3 separate regions of the Homo sapiens genome follow, and regions 1 and 2 are each linked to region 3. The links are contacts of gene promoters, found by promoter capture Hi-C in blood cells and fetal thymus (Javierre and others, 2016). All regions are on one chromosome and are shown on one strand. Each heading gives the region's core, a stretch centred on a gene start or on the middle of the fragment in contact. The rest is flanking DNA. Distances are from core to core; before and after follow the strand shown.

Region 1 (2,700 bases), core at 102-2,601, 2.6 Mb after region 3:
ACCGTATGTGGGGGGGAAAAAAGCAACTCCACCATAATTTCCATTATATCTTCTCACATTGTTGAATAATACCCTTCCTTATTAAGACACAATTTTGATAAAGAAATTTCGATCTCTTTAATGAGATCCTTTTTAGTTTATACTTTCAGTTGAATCTCTCTAAACTAAATAATGTTATACCGAAGCTTAATGCTTCCTATATGAAGATTTTCAAGGGATAGAAACTGAATAATTCTTTACTTAATAACTGTGAAAGCATATACCTGTATGTCATACAGCAAAAACATGCAAACTTTTGAATTACCTCCAATAAAAAAATAGCAAAATGCATTTCCTATTCAAATACACTTAAAAGCAACTTCTTTAGTTGCTTTTATAAGAATACACATAAAATAAGAAAACATATAAAAGTTTTTGTGGTCAGCCAACAGTTCCTTTTAATGTCTAGTTGCAAATTTTTGATCTATAAACTTTCTTTTTAAAATGCTTTTCAGCCGGGTGCAGTGGCTCACACCTGTAATCCCAACACTTTGGGACGTCAAGGCAGGCAGATCATGAGGTCAGGGTATCGAGACTACCCCTGGCCAACATGCTAAAACCCCAACTCTACTAAAAATACAAAAATTAGCTAGGTGTGGTGGCACGTGCCTGTAGTCCCAGCCACTCAGGAGGCTGAGGCAAGAGAATTGCTTGAACCTGGGAGATGGAGGTTGCAGTGAACCAAGATCGCACCACTGCACTCCAGCCTGGGCTACAGAGCGAGACTCCATCTCAAAAAAGAGAATAATAATAATAAAATGAAATGGTTTTCAAGATCAACTTCTACAAGACTATAGGTAACAAAATTAAATACCCACATCCCACCTGGACAGTAATACAGAAACACTTAAATATACACAATTTTTAATAAAGAAAAACACAAATCAAAAGCCCAGAAATTATCAAGAAATATTCGGCTCCGCCGTCAGGATTTCAGGTCCAGCGAGGCTGAGTTAATGGCCAGAGTAGCAGAGTCCCCAATTTTAGTTCTACTTCCTCATTTACCGCGCTGCATAAACAGGTCTGTGGAAATTTAACCTCTCTGAGCTGCAGCTGCCTGATTTGTAAAACTGTGATTCCATTTTTGATATATTACAACAGAGTACTGCATCAGATAATTCCTCAAGCTATTTCTAGCTTAAAGATTTAAGTTTTATGTCTCCCTACTACTTAACGCCTTTATAACACTTCATTCTGTTTCTGCTACTTGATATTAATATATACTCTTAATTTTCAAATTTAAAAATATCTGAGGGCCAGGCGCGGTAGTTCACGCCTGTAATCCCAGCACTTTGGGAAGCAGAGGCAGGTCGATCACTTGAGGTCAGGAGTTCAAGACCAGCCTGGCCAACAGGGAGAAACCCTATCTCTATTAAAAAACAGAAAAATTAGCTGGGCATGGTGGTGTGCACCTGTAGTCCCAGCTACTTGGGAGGCTGAGACATGAGAACCGCTTGATCCTGGGAGGCAGAGGCCACAGTGAGAGGAGGTCACATCACTGCACCTCCAGCCTGGGTGACACAGTGAGACTGTCTCAAAAAAAAAAAAAAAAAATCAGGCTGAATGTGGTGGCTCACGCCTGTAATCCCAGCACTTTGGGAGGCCAAGGTGGGTGGATCACTGGAGGTTAGGAGTTTGAGACCAGTCAGGCCAACATGGTGAAACCCTGTCTCTATTAAAAATACAAAAATTAGCCTGATGTGGTGGCATGTGCCTGTAGTCCCAGCTACTTTGGGGGATGAGACAGGAGAATCGCTTGAACCCAGGAGGCAGAGGTTGCAGTGAGCCAAGATCGCGCCACTGTACTCCAGCCTGGGTGACAGAGCGAGACTCCGTCTCAAAAAATAAAATAAAATATAAATAAACAGATCTGACAACTAGAAGTATCTGTGAAAAAAGAAAAAAAATCAAGTAGCACATTTCCCCCCATTTAATATTAATAAGTGCTTGAGACTTTCATTTTTATCCTAAGACCTTGTAAAGATAAAAGACGACCTTTTGGCTTTTAAGTATTCTATACGCATGGGACACAAATTCAAACACCTTATAGGTAACCAGTGTATGAACTGGCCACTGTGAGATAACATGAAGAGAAAAGGCATCGGGTGATCTAGAAAGTGTCCATATTCCCTGAATGCATTTAAACTAAAAAAATTTATTTAAAAGTGCTGGCCAGTTTGAAACACATTCTATACAACCACTAAAAAACGCTTTCAGCCACTAAACTTACAAGTCCATGTTTCCAACTGTGATATTGTTTCATTTTTTCCATCCAATTTGTGACTTTATTTCATTTCGGTATATATCTCCCATTAGATAAAAATAACCTTCCTGTTTGCAGAAATCGTTGCCACATGGATAAAATCTACTTTTTACTTTTAGAAAAACATATTATCTCCTTATTATCCCTTTGGGGCAATTAACCAAGCATGTGAGGGCACCGAGAAATTAGTTTTGGTCTTACTGAAACCAAACAGCAAAGCTTGAATCTATTTCTGACTTTCTAAACTTGTTTCTCAACCTGTTTGTCACGATCCCTTTTGAAAAACAAAGATCTCAGATTATCCATCTCGGGACACTGACACTACATCCAAAAGATATATCTCTTGTGGCAGGAGATATACGCAGTGTATACTGTGTTTTTACATCAACAAATAAGTT
Region 2 (2,700 bases), core at 1-2,500, 2.0 Mb after region 3:
GCCCGCCGCCCGGTGTTTTCATACAAACCCCGGTGGCAGGCGAGGCGGAGGCGGCGGCGGCGGCAGCTGCGGCGGCGGCGCTGGAGGCGGCGGAACCTGTCCGCATCCCGGGCAACGTCAGCGCGGCGCCCCGCCCACCGCACGCCTTGCCAGCCGGCTCCCAGCACGCGCAGGGAGTGGGGGCGGGGCGTGCGAGGCCGCGAAAGGGGCGGGGCGGAGCGCACGCCCTCTTCCCGCCGCGTCCCTTGTTACCTCCGTGCGCGCTGCGCCCCGCCTCTCTGCGCGCCTGACGGGAGGGAGCGCGCGCGTGGGGGCGGAGCGCGCACGGGAGCGGGAATTAGGGGCGGGTGTTCCGCGCGCTGCCGGTCCCTTGTACCCAGCAGCCCCGGCCACCGCCCCTCCGTACCGAACTGCGAGCGACTCCCCACGTTCTTCAAGTCATCTTTCTGTACACTCCCAACGAGGGCCCCAGCCTTTTCCCGGAACTAAGCCCGCGCCCACCCCCTCCCCCGCCATCAATCAGTCACTTTCTTAGGAAGGGTTCTTAAAGCTCCCCACGTGATCCCGGGGTCGCATCAAACGCTGGGGACTGCGGTAAAGCTTAGACCTTTCCTGACCTCAAGGAGGGTCCATAATAAGAGGCTGGAAGGGACATGCTGTTACTACAATCGGGCTCCCAGAAAACAACAGGATTGCACCTTGTGGCCAAATCTCAGTAAATTAGATGCCTAGTGCTGCAGCGAACAAAATAGCATGCTGATTTACTGTTTTTTGAAAAAGTGCCTGCATATAATCAAAACGGTAATGCTAAGTTGGCTACTGAAGGCAAAGGCGGAATGTTTTATCTGAGCCAAAGTAATGTGTCAGAGAAATTACTAATACACCCCCTTCTGTTTTGACTGTACTTCAGTGTACTGCAATGTATTGCAAATAAATACTGACATCATTTACTTTTTCACGTTGCACAAGAACATGTTTGCTACTGTTTATGGTAAGGAATGTAATATCACAACTAGATAAGGGAATGCATTGAGAACTGTGAGATTTTTGTTTTGTTTTATGATCTTGTTCAAATAAAATTAAGCAGGTGTGAAAGCAATTCAAAAAGTAACCCAAGGTACACCACAGTGCTTCTTACAGTTTGCCCTTGGTAGATGTCTTTATTCAGATGAACAAGAAACTGCCATTTTATAAACATCGTAGTTTCCCTCATCGTGAGCACTAAAAGATAGGTTACGGTATTTAAAATAATTTTGAAACAACCACCACCCCAAACCACCCAATCAGAAACGTATTATCTGAAAATACCCAATAATAATGTAATAATTTTACAATAATGCTAAATATGTATGTAATATACCTGAAACTTTTCTTAAAGAACATGTTTCTAAATGAGTCAACCTGCAATATAGGAAGATATTATGTGGATGTGTGTGTTTGTGGAATTTGAATCCCACTTTCACAAGCACTGTTAGCATAGTTTGATGACCACAACACAGACCCAGGAGATTAACCCACACAAGATAAATAGCAGCATTACATAGCTTTGAAATGATTCCAATCACATAGTTTGCCACAAGAGTGAGTGATTTATGTTTTGCGGTAATTAAGAACTTAGAGCTACTCCCCCACCCCCTGGGAATGTGACATCACTCTTCATCAGATCCCACGTGTATGAAGTTGAAATAAACTTCACCTCTCCTAGCTAATGTGACGTTACACCTTATCAAACACCATATATATGTTACTGACCTCAACTACAGGATTTCGAAATACATATAAACTCAAGAATTTGCAAGATACTTTGAGAGCTCAGCGGGTGGCAGATCGCGTGCTCTGTCAGCCACTTCCCTGAACGCTACCAGCTCAGGCTGCAACAGGGCCACACCCTGTTAGCCTTTAAGCTTTGAAGCCTGTCCACCAACACTGGCACAGCCCTCTAGCATCGTGGGACCTTGCATATCCTCACCGATCTCCTGTATGTTGGACACCATCTCTCCCGAGAACCTCAGCCTCCAAAAGGTAAAGGTACACCTCAGTTGTTTTTCTTTTTCTTTTTCTTTTTCTTTCTTTTTTTTTTTTTTTTGAGACAAGACTCTCACTCTGTTGCCAAGGCTGTAATACAGTAGTGCAATCATGGCTCACTGCAGCCTTGACCTCCCAGGCTTAATGAATCGTACTACCTCAGCCTCCCACTGAGTATCTGGGACTACAGGCACACGTCACCACACCTGGCTAATTTTTTTAATTGTTTTTGTAGAGTCGGGGTCTCCCTAAGTCACCCAGGCTGGTCTCAAACTCCTGGGCTCAGCAGTCCTCCTGCCTTAGCCTCCCAAAATGCTGAGATTACAGGCATTAATACCACACCCACCTCAATCCTTAATCAGACTTTACTTTCCACAGAGGTCTGCTTCAATCTTAATTGAACAACTAGGTTTTAATAGTTTTGGAACTCACTCACTATGTAGTTAATAAACATCATCTATGGAGTGTATTCCCTGTGAAATTATTCTCTTAATTCTCTGCCTCTATACATTGTGAACCTAAGAAAATAAATTATCTTCACATGGCAATAAACCATGTTGATCCAGGATTGTTTCCTCCTTAGCTCAGCTAGATCCAGGTTCTTGTCTCAAGACCAGGAAAAATCAGGTACACGGACACTTGAAGAGTGAGTGAAGTAGAATTTGTTAAGCAAAA
Region 3 (2,700 bases), core at 85-2,584:
ATTCAACAATACACTAAAATTATTTGTTAAATTCCACCAAGAATCTTAATTAACTGCAAGATTTGTATTCCTGAACCAAGTTTAAGTAATATTCTGCATTCACTCCGATTTTCTTTTATTTGATTGCAACCGCTAATATCAACATCGCTATCGCCCCTCTAAAATCAAACAAAAACCTACCCAATGATTGGCATCTAAGAGATGATAAACATACTAAAAGGGAAAGAGCAAGTCATCAGTGAAAGAAAGTCATTCACTTTTCTCCTTAAACCTAGTACTATCACTATTACTTAAGATGGAGCTAAAAACAGTTTCTACGTCATAATTTTTTTTTAAAGGTTGCAAGGTGGGAAAGATTTCAGGAGTTAAAATGCAGAACTAAATATACACATGCACCTCACCCCAAAACCCACCTTAACAAGCAGGCACGTAAAACAACGAGGATCCCACCCACCCCTTTTTAATTCATGAAACAAAACCGCAGCCTGAGCTAAAGCGAACCCTCGCCCCCGCCCAGCCTCCACCCCGCCCGGAGGCTGGCGGTGGGTCCCTTTCCTTTGTGAGGAGTTGGAGGGGAGGCGACGGAGGGCGGGGAACTGGGGGAGGAGGCTGAGGGTCGGCGGATACCAGAGAAGGAAGGCTCCGAGAAAAGCGGCATCAGCCCGTCCCACAAACAGGCCGCGCCGCCACGCCACAAACCATTGCGGTGTCCCAAGGCGCAAACCCACGAACTTGGGTGTGATCTAATTTGGGACGACGCCCGGGAGAATGGCCGAGGACGACCCCTCTCCCAGGCCCTTCCAAAAGGTCTCCTGGGGCGGCGGGCGGAGGTCCTGCCGCCACCCCCATCCCGGCCCGAGCCCCAGGCGGCCTCACCTGCTGGACGGAGCTATTCTCGGGCACGGCGAATTCCTCCTTTTCCTTCGGGGTCTTCACGGTGACTTTCATGATTTTGGGCTCCGCGGAGGCAGCGGCCGCGGGGGCGCCAGCACCTTCGGCTCCGGCGGCGCTATCCTGGGAGCCCGGAGGACCGCCGCTTTCACCACTCTCGGCCATGGCTGTGGCGGCGGCGGCGGCGGTGACTCAGGCAAGCAGGAGGGAGCAGGCGAGCAAGGAGGAGCCAGCAGACACCAGAGCCGGCAGGCCTGGACAGCGAAGAATGCAGAGCACGCCGCCTCAGTAGCAACGGGCGCAGGGCCACCGTAGCGGGTGTGGGGCCCCGGAGCTCGGTGCAGGCTCTGGCGCAGGCCCGGGTCAGGCGCTCGGCAGCCGCCGTGTGTTCAGGCGCCGCTCGCTCACACCGACATCCGCAGCAGCCACCGCTTCCTCCTCCCTGCCCCTTCCCCCACGTCCCTTCGCCGGCGCCGCGCGGAGCACGCCGGGTAACGCGCCTGGCGGCGTCGCCGAGTCATCCCCGGCTGGCGCGACTTTGAGCTCAGCCTGCGTGCCTTTTCCTTTCCCGCTCCATTGCCCAAAGTGCAGGCGAAGCCAGTGTGAAGGACTAAAAGCAAAATGGGGCGGGGTAGGTCAGTTCATGGTTTTTTTCCACTCCTTTCACCAAAAACTAAATCGCAGTTTCCAGTTAAGCGCTGTAACGGCGCACCGAGATGACGTCACGGTTAGCGAAATTACTAGAAAGGGACCAGTGGGCCCTGCGGCCGCGGCTGCGCCTGCGCGCTTGCTGTCCAGGTAGTCTCCCCACCTTACCTCATGCCCAGCTGGGCCGTGTTCACCCCTCCGCGCTGTCACAATCGCCTTGCCCTCCCTTGCCTCTCTGTCTACTCTGCGTTCCCCGCTGGGAGGAGGGTCTGGTGATAAAATAGCGGCGAGGTATTTTGTTATTTTAATATGCTTAGCGTTTGATATTTGGAGGGGTCGTATTGCCCTATGCGGGGGAGTTGGGGTAAGTTAATGGTGGAAAGGCCTCAGCACAACGAACAGAAAATGGAGTGAACGCCCGTGACTGCCCTGCGCAATCCTGCGGAGTCATTGCTTCATGGCCAGAGCTTATTTACCGCCCTCGGGTTAGCCCGGTTTGGTCAGACGATCAGTCAGGCAACCTGTATTGACAGTGGCCTCTGCTGCTACGATGACAGCTGTGCGCGAGCGCCCCCAGATTATCTGTGTGTAGGGCGGAACAGGGTGCCCGAGGAGTGTCCACCCAAATGGGACAATTTAATATAGTTGAGGTGTTCGCCTTATATTCTATCAAATTAAGTTACTGGTCAATTTCAGGCTTTAAGTGGCATTAAGGATAGTTCCAAAATTATTTTCAGTGTAATACAGAGAGAAATTATCTCTGAGAATCCTAATTTGAAATGACGTCATTGGCTTTTAAAGATGACTTGCAAGGAATGTACAAACCAGCCCATTATTAATCAATGTTGCACAATTTAAATCCTGACAGCCCACTATGACCCAAATCCGCAAAGATACATTCTGCCTTTCTGCTCCTAAGCCGTCCAACCCTGTTCTGAGAATAAATACTGTTACATAAACACGACTTTTTAGCAGAGCTCTATGGAATCTGGGTCTAAGAGAATCCTGAGGGTATCGATTTCAGTATAGACATCATTTGATATCACCTAAATTTCTGGCAGCATGGCTCAATAACAAGGCCTTCTGCTTAATGAAGGATGACTACTTGGTTATGTCCAGGTGTGAGATGATCACTGCTTCTAAAGCTAGAAAGTGCCACAA

What was found. The method cuts DNA at HindIII sites, captures the fragments that hold promoters and counts their contacts. A CHiCAGO score of 5 or more calls a contact.
Region 1: a contact is called between a fragment that was not itself captured here and the fragment with the promoter of UBQLN1 in region 3, in 1 of 17 cell types (activated CD4 T cells). The highest score is 7.0, in activated CD4 T cells.
Region 2: a contact is called between a fragment that was not itself captured here and the fragment with the promoter of UBQLN1 in region 3, in 2 of 17 cell types (non-activated CD4 T cells and naive CD8 T cells). The highest score is 8.2, in non-activated CD4 T cells.

The regions. Positions count from the first base shown.
Region 1 is chr9:86,349,558-86,352,257 of GRCh38, forward strand. The region is part of intron 2 of TUT7 (terminal uridylyl transferase 7); the gene reads right to left. Among named protein-coding and RNA genes, the nearest start is that of TUT7, 3.5 kb to the right of the region's middle. The HindIII fragment of the contact is 2,336 bases long and covers 184-2,519 here.
Region 2 is chr9:85,741,857-85,744,556 of GRCh38, forward strand. AGTPBP1 (ATP/GTP binding carboxypeptidase 1) reads right to left here and starts at 98. Exons shown (of 26, transcript NM_001330701.2): 1 at 1-98. RefSeq lists a silencer at 1-421. The HindIII fragment of the contact is 1,304 bases long and covers 599-1,902 here.
Region 3 is chr9:83,706,624-83,709,323 of GRCh38, forward strand. It overlaps UBQLN1 (ubiquilin 1), which reads right to left and starts at 1,335. Exons shown (of 11, transcript NM_013438.5): 1 at 877-1,335. The coding sequence starts at 1,056. UBQLN1-AS1 (UBQLN1 antisense RNA 1) reads left to right here and starts at 1,212. Exons shown (of 2, transcript NR_135839.1): 1 at 1,212-1,689. RefSeq lists enhancers at 358-1,248, 1,016-1,085, 1,249-2,137. The HindIII fragment of the contact is 7,028 bases long and covers 1-2,700 here.